2 separate regions of the Homo sapiens genome follow, and region 2 is linked to region 1. Evidence: promoter capture Hi-C in 16 types of primary human blood cells and fetal thymus (Javierre and others, 2016). All regions are on one chromosome and are shown on one strand. The core of a region is centred on a gene start or on the middle of the fragment in contact, and the rest is flanking DNA. Distances in the headings are between cores, read along the strand shown. Region 1 holds the start of MYH6 (myosin heavy chain 6). Region 2 overlaps BCL2L2-PABPN1 (BCL2L2-PABPN1 readthrough).

The links. Contacts are between HindIII fragments. The CHiCAGO score rates a contact against its expected background, and 5 or more counts as called.
Region 2: a contact is called between a fragment that was not itself captured here and the fragment with the promoter of MYH6 in region 1, in 1 of 17 cell types (megakaryocytes). The highest score is 6.0, in megakaryocytes.

What each region holds. Positions count from the first base shown.
Region 1 is chr14:23,404,284-23,411,491 of GRCh38, reverse strand. MYH6 (myosin heavy chain 6) reads left to right here and starts at 3,219. Exons shown (of 39, transcript NM_002471.4): 1 at 3,219-3,239; 2 at 3,884-3,916; 3 at 4,256-4,469; 4 at 5,722-5,865; 5 at 6,113-6,269; 6 at 6,365-6,392; 7 at 6,670-6,781; 8 at 7,104-7,196. The coding sequence starts at 4,269. RefSeq lists enhancers at 3,866-4,366, 2,049-6,924. The HindIII fragment of the contact is 15,953 bases long and covers 2,306-7,208 here.
Region 2 is chr14:23,324,601-23,331,619 of GRCh38, reverse strand. It overlaps BCL2L2-PABPN1 (BCL2L2-PABPN1 readthrough), which reads right to left. Exons shown (of 8, transcript NM_001387346.1): 8 at 5,457-7,019. PABPN1 (poly(A) binding protein nuclear 1) reads right to left here. Exons shown (of 7, transcript NM_004643.4): 7 at 5,457-6,373. The coding sequence ends at 6,334. Among named protein-coding and RNA genes, the nearest start is that of PABPN1, 6.7 kb to the right of the region's middle. RefSeq lists a silencer at 3,338-3,427. The HindIII fragment of the contact is 1,983 bases long and covers 2,639-4,621 here.

The sequences.
Region 1 (7,208 bases), core at 1,970-4,469:
GAGATTGAGCAACCACAGGACAAGGTAACCAGAGGAAACAGAGACAAGGAAAAAAGATGCAGGAAATGAGGAGGCCCCAGAAAGATCCGCAGGCGCCGCCACCTTTCTCCTCATAGCCACCTCCATTCTCCTTCCCTAGGCCAACCCAGACAGAGCTCCCTCAAACCAGGGATGCTTCCTTTTCATTTATCCAGCTCAATTGAACCACACAGCCCCAGAGGCCAAGGTAATTCAGTTCTCTGTGATTTCTAGGATTCTTTCAGCCTTTTTGTTTTTGTTTTTGTTTTTGTGACGGAGTCTCACTCTGCTGCCCAGGCTGGAGTGCAGTGGCACAACCTCGGCTTGGGCCGAGATCCCTAGGGCCATTCCTCTGGCTAGGAACAGACTTGGACAGCAATGAAGAGATAACTAGAAACAAAGGAGAGAACCCTTGAAAAGGGAGCTATGCAGAGAGACCCAGGGCACCTAAGCAACCAGAGCAAGAGAGACCGCAAGAGATACAGATCCTATGAGAATGGTCGGGGGCTGGATGCAGACAGCAGGGTTGAGAGAGGTCTGAGAGCCAAGCCAGGGAGAAGGAGGGGTGCTGAGGGGGATGGGGAGAGAGGAAAAGAGAGGGAGCCTTGGAGGGAGAAGCTTGAAGAGCTGCGGGTGGTGATCCCGAGTGAAGGAAAGAATCCTGGGTCACTTGCAAATGCAAGGAGAGTCAGGAAGGCGCAAGGAGATTGGAGAGGAGGAAGAGCCTGGAGCAAGATGTGGAGGCCCAGGGCGAGAGAAGAGGCCAGCTCGGAGAGGGCAGAGCCTCATGTTAGACCCTGAGCCGGGTGGAGACACGGGCCAGGGAGAATCGGAGGCAGGCCCCACTCTGAGATGGAGAAGCAGGCAGAGGGAATGAAGGTGAGACAGAGACAGATGCAACGGGGAGCCAGGCAGAAGACAGGCAACCTGTGCCAGGGAGGCCAGCCTTGCCTCCTTGGCACCCTCACCTGTGGCCGAAGCCTCCATCCCTGTCCTTATATTCCAGGACTCCCAGCAGAATGAGGAGCTGTGTGCAAGGCAGCTTAGGGAGGACGGAGAGCAATATGTGAGAGCAGGGAGAGAAGGAGCCTGGGGAAGGGAGAGGACGGTACAGCGGAGCAGACGGGCAGGGCCTGGGGCTGAGTGAACACCTTCCTTCCTCCTCCTTCCACAGGAGCGGGGGACTACCCCCCACCACCTCCACTCCCCGCTGCCCTGCCACCACCACCTATACCAAGTGAGGCCTGCTCAGAGCACAGGGTTCCCTGAGGACAAAGCCTGGTCTTTGTCACCTGACCCCGACCCAGACTGACCTGGCGTTCTCAGCTCCTTATCATGTCCCCAGAGCTATGGGAACCAAGCAGTGACGCACTGGCCATGGGCTAACCCCCCGGCTCGAATTCTGGGGCCTCGAGTAACCTAGAGCTGGGGACAGGTGGCCTGCATCCCCTGGGGGTAATGATTTGGCATAAGCACCTGCAGAAGATGGGGATGTGGGGTCAACTAAGGTCCCTCCAAGGACATTGAGAAAAGGTCCAAATGCTCTGGAAAGAGAGGTGTGTTCCTGAGCCCAGGAATGGGGTGGCAGCGTCCTAGGGAGCTAGGGGAGAGGCCACATCTTAATGGAAAGTGCTCCTACCCAGAGAAGCTGACCCCTGTCGTCCTACCCACCTCCACACCCTGGAGCTATATTGAGAGGTGACAGTAAACTGGTGGGAGGGGGGCTGGGAGGGTGTTCCTGGGTGTGAGGGTGGGGGGAAGGCCAGAGCAGGGGAGTCTGGCTTTGTTTCCTGAACACAATGTCCACTTAGTCATAACAGGAACAGCCTGCTGAAGACCTGACACCTACAGCCTCTGAGAGATGGCAGCATTGGAGGATGGGGAGCGGGGCCTTGAGGGCCTAGGGTGCTTGAGGACACCCACAAAGAAGGGAATGTGAGTATAAGCCCTGGAGGGCTTGGAAAGGGGCAACAAAATTCTGCCTGGGGAGGGGGCAGGTGGCAGAGCCCCACCCCGATGGAATGCAGTGCCTGGGGACCAGATGGTGTAAATCCCCAGGCCTGCCAGGCACCTGCACCCTCTGGCAGCCCGGTGAGGCAGAAGGGGACAGCCCCTCACCCACCCCCCTCCTCTCTCAGGCCCTAGGATTAGCACCATCTTCTTCTGCCCACCCCACCCCAGGAGCAGAGGGTAGCAGGGGAGGGCAAAAGCCTATGTGTGCAAATGCGGATGTGCAAATGTGTGCATCCATGTACACAAAAGAAAGTAGAAAAGAAATCTGCAAGCTTGAGTGGGTAAGTGTGAAAAATCTGCATGTGTGGCTGAAGATGGGCACAGACACGGTCAAGTCTGTATGTGAGAGTGCTGAACTGGGGTTCTGTGTGAAAATCTGCCTGAGGCGGCAGGGAGAATCACTGCCATTGCGTGAGCAGGTTGGATGTTGGCCACTCTATCAGGAGCATTAGGGAAGGGGTGGGGACTCCAGACGTGTCCCCAAACCAGGGTGGCCTCAAGACCTTGGGAGAACACTTGTCTGAAGACTTGGGGAACAGAAGGAGACCAGGCATGGCACTTATGCAGACTGAGGCCAGGACAGAATTTCCTGACAAAAGAAAACTGAGCCATGGAGATGGACAACAGATCCCTTCCCTGGGCACCATACTGCAGCTTTTAGTCCCTAGCACTGGGGGCTCCAGTACTAACAGCAGGAAGATGCTCCCAGCCTGGGACTGTGTGAGGGAGGTCAGAATGGGAAGGAGAGGCTGGGGAACAGGGGAGGAAAGCCCATGGTTGGGAGGCGGAGGACAGGCATTTGGCCTGCAGGAGAAGGTGACCCTCACCCATGTTTTCAGTTCACCCTTCGGGTTAAAAATAACTGAGGTAAGGGCCATGGCAGGGTGGGAGAGGCGGTGTGAGAAGGTCCTGTCTTCCCACTATCTGCTCATCAGCCCTTTGAAGGGGAGGAATGTGCCCAAGGACTAAAAAAAGGCCGTGGAGCCAGAGAGGCTGGGGCAGCAGACCTTTCTTGGGCAAATCAGGGGGCCCTGCTGTCCTCCTGTCACCTCCAGAGCCAAAGGATCAAAGGAGGAGGAGCCAGGAGGGGAGAGAGGTGGGAGGGAGGGTCCCTCCGGAAGGACTCCAAATTTAGACAGAGGGTGGGGGAAACGGGATATAAAGGAACTGGAGCTTTGAGGACAGATAGAGAGACTCCTGCGGCCCAGGTAAGAGGAGGTTTGGGGTGGGATGCCCTGCAGCCCGTCCACAGAGCCCCCACCGTGAGGGACCTCCTTCACCAGGAGTGGGGTGCAGGTCAGTTGGAGGCCTAAGGGCTCTATTAAAACTGCCTATCTCCAGGCCCAGGGAAGTTCCCCCTGACACAAGGAGGTTCCACAGGAAACCCAGAAACCTCTTTTCTCCTTCTCTGACTCTCCATTTCTTTCTCTGCATCATTCTGAGTCTCCTACATGTTGTCTCCATCTTTCCATCTTCCTTCCTCCTTTGGATGGCTTCCTTCCCTTGATCCTGGTTTTATCTTGCCTCTTGGTCTTCATCGACACTTGTCACAATCATGCTTCTTTGTCTCTCTCCCTTGTCCTTCCTTCTTGGCACGTGTTCTCACCTCCCTGCCTCTCTGCTTCTAACCCTGTTTCCACACCCCGTCCCTCGCACTCATATTGACTCGGTGCCCTTTCTTTTCTGCCTCTGCGTCTTTCCCTTTCTGACTCCCTGGTCTGTCCTGCCTGTCTGCGCTCTGGGGCTGCCTCCATCCCCGGGTGGCCTGCCTCTGTTGTTCTTCACTCTCCTCATCTGTTCTTCTCTCTGCCCGGCTCTACCTCTGTTGTTCCTTGCTCCACCCACGGTCCAGATTCTTCAGGATTCTCCGTGAAGGGATAACCAGGTGAGAACTGCCCCCATTTTCTCTGCAGAGACTGGGGCATGCTTCTCCTGGGAGCCGGATTGCTGGACCAGGGGTCTGCTGTCCCAAGCACTCAGCGCCAACCCTTAGCATACTCCAGCCAATGCCACCCCAGGGAAACCCCTTACAGAGATTGTCCTTCAGCATCACCTCAGAGGGCAGGAGAAGCAGAGCCCTGAGTAGGGGAGGGTGCAACAGCAGGTGCCTCTCCCAGGGTGGAGGAGAGGAGCGGGGGTAGGGAGGGGGGCTGCAGAGGACAAAGCCACTCGCTGGAGCCTGGGCTCCCTCAGGAGTAACATAGCCCTCCTGTCTCTGACCCAGGGGAAGCACCAAGATGACCGATGCCCAGATGGCTGACTTTGGGGCAGCGGCCCAGTACCTCCGCAAGTCAGAGAAGGAGCGTCTAGAGGCCCAGACCCGGCCCTTTGACATTCGCACTGAGTGCTTCGTGCCCGATGACAAGGAAGAGTTTGTCAAAGCCAAGATTTTGTCCCGGGAGGGAGGCAAGGTCATTGCTGAAACCGAGAATGGGAAGGTGAGTAGGGCATGGCGCCGGGGCAGAAGGGAAGGAGGTCTGGGAAAGAAGATGCAGAGGTGGAGCCACTTGCAGGGGGAGCTGAGAGGGCTGGAGAAAAGCCAAGGCCAGTGGGGATGCCAGGACATGCTCCTTTGAGGAGCCCAGAATCTGATCCCTCTCAAATTGACCTGAGCTGGTGCAACAGGTGCCACCCAGGGCCATGTTCCCCCTGCCAGAGAGGATGCTGAGGAAGAAGAACCTCAGTGTTCGCCTAAGAGGGGTCTTGTAGATAAAGAGGGCACAGACACAGCATTAAATGATGCCCCCTTCTTGCACTTGTATCCCTCTTCCCTGTGCCTCAGTTTCCTCCATGAGTCCACTTTCTCAAATTCCGTTCACCCAAATCAAGAGTAATTCTTAGACCCAGATGAACACAAAGATCAGAAACTTTTGAGCTGAGCACTCTCCTTGACTGGCACTCAGAAGCTCTGGTCCCTGGTTTGCTCACACCAGCCAAGAGAATCACCCCTGGTTACCAGCTGCGGCTCAGGGCTGTGTGCCTCATGAACTCGTTGACTGAATGTTACAACCCATTGAAGTGTAGAATAACAGGCCACAATCCCCTGGGGCTTTTGACTCTGATCCCAGCTCTGCCACCCGCTAGTCACTGTGCAGGCAAATCATTTAGTCATTTAGAGCCACGGATTTCTCCACTATAAAAAACACTGGAATACCTACTGGCAGGATCTAATGACATCAGGGCATGGCAAACTGACTGCTGCCAATCAAACCACACCAACAGTGATGGATGGGGAGTGTGGAGTAGATGGGTGAACTACTTTTCCAGCAGGGGTGAAGGTTTGCCCTGAGCAACAGATACCCTAAAGCGCTGCCCGCGGGAGACAGCCTCGGGGTCAGCATAAGGTGTGCACAGATCTGAGAGCTGCCAATCTCCAGGTCTGCCCCAAGACCCTTGGAACATAGGGACTGAAGAGTGATGGTCATGGGCACAGGGTGTCCCCAGGATGGTCTGGGGATCTGGCAAGAGAAAGGTACCCTAGGACAGTCTCTAGGATGGGAGATACAATGGGAAGGGAAATTACCTGGGGAAAGTGTCCCAGGGGACATCGGGGTAGGGGCCGGGGCACTGGTCAGAGCAAGGGGAGCAAGGCCAAGTCCCTGTGTCCTGGGAGGAGGTCAGTGGGCAGTGCTGGCAAGGGTCCCGGAGGGATTGTGGTCACTCATCCTCCTGCTTATGCGCCCCCTCCAGACGGTGACTGTGAAGGAGGACCAGGTGTTGCAGCAGAACCCACCCAAGTTCGACAAGATTGAGGACATGGCCATGCTGACCTTCCTGCACGAGCCCGCGGTGCTTTTCAACCTCAAGGAGCGCTACGCGGCCTGGATGATATATGTGAGTGGCTCCTGCACACTGCAGAGGCTTCCTGTGCTGCGTGGAGGCCTAAATAAGCCAGGGGGGCTCTCCCAAGAAGAGGGGGAGAGACTCCCAAGGGACCCAAGTCCCCTTCCCCCCTCCACCCCTAGTCAGCTGCAGGAGGAGTAGAGCCAGCTGGAGTGAACAGGGACATGCCTGGCTGCCACCACTGCCTGTCCCAGGCTCTCCCCACCAACCTCATGCCCAGCCTTGTCTCCTGCTCCAGACCTACTCGGGCCTCTTCTGTGTCACTGTCAACCCCTACAAGTGGCTGCCGGTGTACAATGCCGAGGTGGTGGCCGCCTACCGGGGCAAGAAGAGGAGTGAGGCCCCGCCCCACATCTTCTCCATCTCCGACAACGCCTATCAGTACATGCTGACAGGTGAGCCTGGTGGCCCCTGGTCTCTGCTCCTCCTCCCAGACACCCACCCAGATCCTCAGCCCTGACCCCATTGCTTCTCCTCTTTTTTCTTCCAGATCGGGAGAACCAGTCCATCCTCATCACGTGAGCGAGTGCCATCCTCCCACAGAAGGGACTGGGCTGGGGGCATACACGCTGATGCCTAGGGTGTAGTTGGGAGGAGAGGTTTAAGGCTGGGATTGCAGGGAGCATGGGGCACTGAGCTCTCATTAGAGGGGTGCCAGAGCAATGAACCATGTCAGGCAAATCCTGCTGGGTGCTGGGCTCTGATGGCCAGGCTGGGAAGGGGAGCATGTGATGCTGAGCCCTGTATGGAGAACAGTAGGAATCCTGAGTTTTGATTGGTCTCTGTGGCCCCCAGGGGAGAATCCGGGGCGGGGAAGACTGTGAACACCAAGCGTGTCATCCAGTACTTTGCCAGCATTGCAGCCATAGGTGACCGTGGCAAGAAGGACAATGCCAATGCGAACAAGGTGCCATGGGGGACACAGGCTCGGCAGAACAGGGGTTGGGGGGCAGGCTGACCCGAGTTACCCCTAACCCTCCCCTCCCTGTGACGTGGTGGGGACAGCCACACTGAGCTGGGCTCCCGATGGTCAGCCCAGTATGGAAGACCTTCCTGACAGGAGACACTCACCCTGAGGTCTGGGTAGGATCCTGTGGAGTCGCAGACCCACTAGCGGTTCACCCAGCCCCGCACCCCCATTCCTCAGGGCCAGGGCAGCCTCCCTGCCCTCTCACCACTGCCTGGAGGTGGATGGAGGATGAACCCATGCAGTTCTGCTCCTTTCATAGGGCACCCTGGAGGACCAGATCATCCAGGCCAACCCCGCTCTGGAGGCCTTCGGCAATGCCAAGACTGTCCGGAACGACAACTCCTCCCGCTTTGTGAGTGCCTTT
Region 2 (7,019 bases), core at 2,381-4,880, 80 kb after region 1:
GAAGTTTATTTGTTGCAGTTCTGGGGACTGGGAAGCCCAATATCAAGGTTCTGGCAGATTTAATATCTGGTGAGATCCCATTTCCTGGTTCATAGATGGTACCTTCTCACTGTATCCTCACGTGATGTAAAAGGGCAAGGTAGCTCTTGGGGCTTCTCCTATGAACTAATGACCTCCCATAAGTCCCGAACTGCTAATATCATCACTTTGGGGGTTAGGATTTCAGCATATGGATTGTGGTGGAGGTGCAAACACTCAAACCATAGCACAGTATGACCCAGCAACTCCATTCTTAAGTATATACCCAAGAGAAATGAAAACATATGTTCATACAAAAACTTATACAGTTGTTTGGAGCCAGACTATTTGTAATAGCCAAAAAAATAGAAACAACCCAAATGTCCATCAGTTGATGATGGAAACAAAATGTGTTATATCCAATGAAATACTAGTCAGCCATAAAAAGGAATACTGGGCCAGGCATGGTGGCTTATGCCTGTAATCCAAGCACTTTGTGAGGCTGAGGTGGGAGGATCACTTGAGCCCAGGAGTTTGAGGCCAGCTTGGGCAACATAGCAAGATCTCATCTTTACAAAAAATAAAATATAATAAAATTCTGGCCCTGCGCGATGGCTCATGCCTGTAATCCCAGCACTTTGGGAGGCTGAGGCGGGCGGATCATGAGGTCAGGAGTTCAAGACCAGCCTGGCCAATATGGTGAAACGCCATCTCTACTAAAAAATAAAAAAATTAGACGAGCTTGGTGGTGCACGGCTGTAGTCCCAGCTACTTGGGGGGCTGAGGCAGGAGAATTGCTGGAACCCGGGAGACTGAGGTTGCAGTGAGCCAAGATCGCTCCATTGCTCTCCAGCCTGGGTGACAGAGCAAGACTCCATCTCAAAAAAATAAATAAATAATAAAAAAACAAAAAATTAGCCAGGCATGGTGGTATGTGCCTGTGGTCTCAGATACTTGGGAGGCTAAGGTGGAAGGATGGCTCAAGCCCAGGAGTTTGAGGTTTCAGTGAGATATGAATTTGTTGCTCATTCTGAGCAACAGAGCAAGACCTTGTCTCCATTAAAAAATAATAATAAGGCCGGGTGCAGTGGCTCATGCCTGTAATCCCAGCACTTTGGGAGGCCGAGGCAGGCAGATCATGAGGTCGGGAGTTCAAGACCAGCCATGGTGAAACCCCGTCTGTACTAAAAATACAAAAATTAGCCTGGCGTGGTGGCACACACCTGTAATTCCAGCTACTCGGGAGGCTGAGGCAGGAAAATCGCTTGAACCCAGGAGGCAGAGGTTGCAGTGAGCCGAGATCGTGCCACTGCACTCCAGCCTAGGCGACAGAGCAAGATTCCATCTCAAAAAATAATAATAATAATAAAATGTGATCATAATTTGAGAAAGGCTGCTCATTCTAACCATACATAAAAACAAGGAAAGCAGCAATATTATTGTAAAAACCCACCAACTGTTTCTTTTCTCCATTGCCAACGTCGGATTGGGCAAATCCTACCTTAAAAAGCACTGGCTTGCCTCGGTTTATTTTGCATCATCCAAAGGCCCTCTAAGGATCTCTGACTCACAGACCCTCACCCCAGACAGGTTTTATACACAGGCTCTCCCAGTCTCTTTCTTCCCATGGAACTCCAGTGAGATTGGGCTCATTTCTATCCCTCAGTTAACAGAGAGCCGATCAGGAGTGACTGACAGAAATCATCCACCAAAAATAACCAAGCTTGCCCGAGGAAAGTAACTTTCTTTCCATGCTTCTTCCTCTAAACCTAGTCTCTTTTAAGTAAAATAGTCTGACTCTTATAAGAATAAAACTAAAGGCCGGGCATGGTGGCTCACGCTTGTAATCCCAGCACTTTGGGAGGCCGAGGTGGGTTAACCACGAGATCAGGAGATCGAGACCAGCCTGACCAACATGTTGAAACCCCGTCTCTACTAAAAATACAAAAAATTAGCCAGGCATGTGGCGCATGCCTGTAATCCTAGCTACTCAGGAGGCTGAGGCAGGAGAATTGCTTGAACCTGGGAGGTGGAGGTTGCAGTGAGCTGAGATGGCACCACTGCACTCCAGCTTGGGCGACAGAGTGAAACTCCGTCTCAGGAAAAAAAAAAAAAAAGAGGAAGAAAACTACCAGCTCCAGGTAAAAGGCAACACTATTGTTGTTACCGCCTTCTCCAGGACAGGAAAGGCAAGCCCAGGGTGAATAAGCAACTTTTGGGCACCTACTAAATGGCAGGCCCTGTGAGGCAGACACAAAGTCACAATTGATGCCCTCAAGAAGCTTGCATTCGGCCGGGCGCGGTGGCTCACGCCTGTAATCCCAGCACTTTGGGAGGCCGAGGCGGGTGGATCATGAGGTCAGGAGATCGAGACCATCCTGGCTAACAAGGTGAAACCCCGTCTCTACTAAAAATACAAAAAATTAGCCGGGCGCGGTGGCGGGCGCCTGTAGTCCCAGCTACTCGGGAGGCTGAGGCAGGAGAATGGCGTGAACCCGGGAAGCGGAGCTTGCAGTGAGCCGAGATCCCGCCACTGCAGTCCGCAGGCCAGCCTGGGCGACAGAGCGAGACTCCGTCTCAAAAAAAAAAAAAAAAAAAAAAAAAAAAAAAAGAAGAAGCTTGCATTCTAGTGGGAAAACAGAAATGTAGTTAGTTTCATTATAAAACCACAAAGTAAATATTAAACAGGGATAGGAACAGTTTGTCCTGACTGCAGGAGTGATTACTTCTGACTTGGAAATCAGGAAAGGCTTCATGTCTGTTGTACCTGGCTTACACTTGGAAGGATATGCGTGATTTTCATAGAAGAGTTGGAATGAGCATAGCAGGCTAGAGGGAACAGCATGAGGGATACATGAAAATAAATAACAACTACAATGCATAGTACATCAGGTGTAGGGCAGGATCTGGAAGAGAAATGTAATCAGGATCAGATTGAAAAAGGTTGTAGTTCCATGCTTGTGTTTGGACTTTGTACTTATTGGTGGCATCATAGAGGGCTTTTTTTGGCAATAAGAAGTTTGGAGGCTGAGCATGGTAGCTTACGCCTATAAACCTAGCACTTTGGGAGGCCGAGGCAGGAGGATTGCTTGAGGCCAAGAGTTCAAGATCAACTTGGCCAACATAGCGAGACCCTATCTTTTAAAGTACTTTTTTTAGGAATTTTTATTTTTCAAAAAAAAATTTGAAGCCAATACATCTGCCAGGACCCCTGCAATGATGATGGGGAGTTACTCAAGCAGTGAAAGTAGGAATAGAGAGAACAGACAAGATATGGTAGAATTGACTGAATATGGAAAACTAAACCAGAGAAGGGTCAAAACATGATTCACCCTCCAATACCCAACAATTTATGGGGATCTTTTAGAGCCAGCCATTTAGTGCCCCCTGGTGGACAGATGAGACCATCACAGCATTAACAGCAACAAGTCACTTAGGCTGTTTCATTCTTCCAGTAAAAAGTTTATATTGAACACTATCCAGACCCTCACTAATCAGCCTCTGCAGAAGCCACAGAGATCACGGCACTATTTTAGGTGAATCTAGTTAGGAGAAAAGATAGACCTCAAATGCCTAACCCATAACAGAAAGTAGAATAAATGACCAAATCCTAAAATATGTGGTGGATAACACTGACATGAGATTTTAGAAAATACTGCAATTTGAGAGGTGGGTTAAGGCTTCAGATATAACAGAGTTTTTTGTTTTGTTTGTTTTGAGACAGAGTCTCGCTCTGTCACCCAGGCTGGAAGTGCAGTGGCTGAGTCTCAGCTCACCTCAATCTCCACCTCCTATGTTCAAACGATTCTCCTGCCTTAGCCTCCAGAGTAGCTGGGACTACAGGTGCATGCCACCACACCTGGCTAATTTTTGTATTTTTAGTAGAGACGGGATTTCACCATGTTGGCCAGGCTGGTCTCAAACTCCTGACCTCAAGTGATCCGCCCACCTCTGCCTCCCAAAGTGCTGAGACTGCAGGTGTGAGCCACTGCGCCCGGCCACAGAGCCATTTCTTTAACATATGATTTTTGAAGAGCATCCAGGTCAGAGGCAATTGTGAACAAAACATCCTGAGAAGTAAATGAAAAAATAGTAAGGTTGAAATACTAAGAAATTCTATAGGTAATGAAGTCTGAAGGTTCAACCTGGCTAGTGATGTAGTGTTCAAGTTTTAAGACCAATCTGACACTGGAATAAAAAATGGAGAAATTAGGATGCCCAAGACAAAATTTAGATATGAAAACAGTGAAAGCCAGTTGTGAAGTCCTAATAAACTAATCCTGGCCAGGAGCTGTGGCTCACGCCTATAGGAAGGCCAAGCCAGGAGGACTGCTTGAGCTCAGGAGTTTGGGACAGCCTGGGCAACACAGCAAAACTGTCTCTACAAAAAATTAGCCAAGTGTGAAGGCAGGCACCTATAGTCACAGCTATGTAGGACACTGAGGTGGGAGGATCACTTGAGCCCGGGAGGTTGAGGCTGCAGTGAGCCACTGCACTCCAGCCTGGGTGACAAAGCAAGACCATCTCAAAAAAATAAATGATCCAATTAATATAAGTTAGCTGGACACATTAAATGGTTACTGCATGGTTGGAAAAACAAGCTTTCCGATTGTCTCTTAGCTAAGTGTATTTTGTCTTCTGCATTTCTTGGGCCCACCTTGAGGTAGAAAAGGTAGCTGGGTGCAGTGGTTCACACTTGTAATCCCAATACTTTGGGAGGCTAAGATGGGAAGATTGCTTGGTCAACATAGCGAGACCCCAAAGACAAGGTTACCCAGACCCCAATCCAAAGCTCTAGGGCTGCAGGCATGGATAGTTCATTTGCACGTAAGCTGTATCAGGAGCACACAAAAGCGCCATTAGGTCAGTAATTCGGCTATTCCTTTTTTTATTTTGAGACAGTTTCACTCTGTCACCCAGGCTGGAGTGCAGTGGTGTGAACTTGGCTCACTGCAAGCTCCACCTCCTGGGTTCACGCCATTCTCCTGGCTCAGCCTCCCGAGTAGCTGGGACCACAGGCACCCGCCACCTCGTCAGGCTAATTTTCTGTATTTTTAGTAGAGGTGGGGTTTCGCCATGTTAGCCAAGATGGTCTTGATCTCCTGACCTCGTGATCTGCCCACCTCAGCCTCCCAAAGTCCTGGGATTGTAGCAGTGAGCCACCATGCCCGGCCCAATTCAGCTATTCTTTTACTTTCCCAGGCTTATTTCTCTCTCAAATGCCAATCAGGGTTACATGTTATCCAGAAAACCTATCATTCTCAACTAAACACATAATGTTCCTGCTAGTTGTAATGTAATTCCTACTCCTTAATTCACAAGTGGCAACCTCCCTTCCACAACACCAGTACTTCTACCACAAGGCAGAATTAATAGCCATCTGCGATCTAAGAGAGAATAGGAAGATAAATAATCCTTACACCCAAAAGGCCAAACAATTTTTATTTTCAAAAACAACTTTATTCATGACACATATTAAAAAAAAATTCCCACCCCTGGAAATGAGCTAAAAAAATAAACAAAATCCACCTCCCACCTCCCTGTTCCCACTTCCTCCCATTCCCTCCAAATAAAAGGGAAAAAAGGCAAAGGAAAAAAAAAAAAAACAAAAAAACAAAACAACTGAAAAACAAAAACACCCCTAAACCCCCCAAAACAAGGTAGTGCATTTCCCCAGGGGGAAGGGGAATTTACACTGGAGCCGCTGGGAGCGGAACGGAGATCTTCCGGCTACAGAAACCTGCAAAGAAAGACACTCAAAACAGAAAAAGAAACACAAAAGGAAACAAAATAGATCACCAGGCAATCTGGAGGGGCAGGGAGCCGGAGAAGAGGGGTGGGGTGGGTGGTAGACCTGGCTGGACAGGAGCAGGCAGGAGGGGACTGTGAAAGGCGAGGAGAAGACGGAGGGAAGGTAACAAGCAGAACAGTTTGGTGTCCTTCCAGAGCCCTGGGTAAAAAAAAAAACCTCCTACCACCCACGCCCACCTACCCTTGAGCAGCCCCCAAGGGGGTGAAGTGGGGCAGGGAAACATGGGCAGCAGCTTGCGCAGTTGAGACGTGTCCATGGCGAATCCCCAGAGTGAATAAGCAGCCCCCTGCCCCACTCCCTGGGCCTTCCCCTACTCCCCAAAGCAGGTCCCTCCTCAGCAGTTAGTTATGGGATTCTCCCCCCTTCCACAGTATATCTTTTTTTTAAAAAATATTTTTTTTCCATCAAGGTCATCTTCTGTTTTTCTTTTTTTTTTTTTTAATTCTTTTTTTTTTCCTTCTTTCCTCTTTTTTTCCTCTCTCTCCTCCTAATACACACTTTTTTTAGTAAGGGGAATACCATGATGTCGCTCTAGCCCGGCCCCTGGAAGAAAGAAGGAGAGTTAGGTGTTAACGTGATCACTAGATAGTTCAGTACAAGCCCCTCCCCGTAGGCCCCTGCCCCAGTTACTGTGAAGGGAAGGGGGGAAAAGAAGTGTTCAAGTGTCCTAAAACTGACCCCATGATCCCAGAAATAGTAACGCACCTGGAGAACTGGGGCAGGGGGAGGGGGGCTTAACAGAAAACTGCCAAACAGTGGCGAAAAAGAAGCGCATCTGAGTGAGAGACAGGGGCAAGGAAAAGGACCCCCTTTTTATCCAGTTTTCAGTCCTCCACAGCTCTTAAACCCTAGGCCATCACAAATAGATCCTCCCTAACTCCTGGGGATAGGCAGGTAGAGCTTATGAAAAGCCAAGGTTTATATGCCTAACCCGTCTATTTAAATGTAGAGACAGAAGTGAAGCAAGGCAAAAACCTGGGCACCACACTAGGCCCAGTGAGAAGTTAACCTTGCAAGACTGGCTCAAATAAAGAATAAGTATCTCAAAATCCTCCCACAAGGCTGTTGGGGAGGATCAACTAGCTAGCCTCTGGTATTCTTCCAAGGGAGGTTCAGTCTTCAATCCCTCCCTAACTCCGAAAAAAGTAACAAATGTCCAAGCAGTGCTTTCACTGCCTGGAGGCCCTGT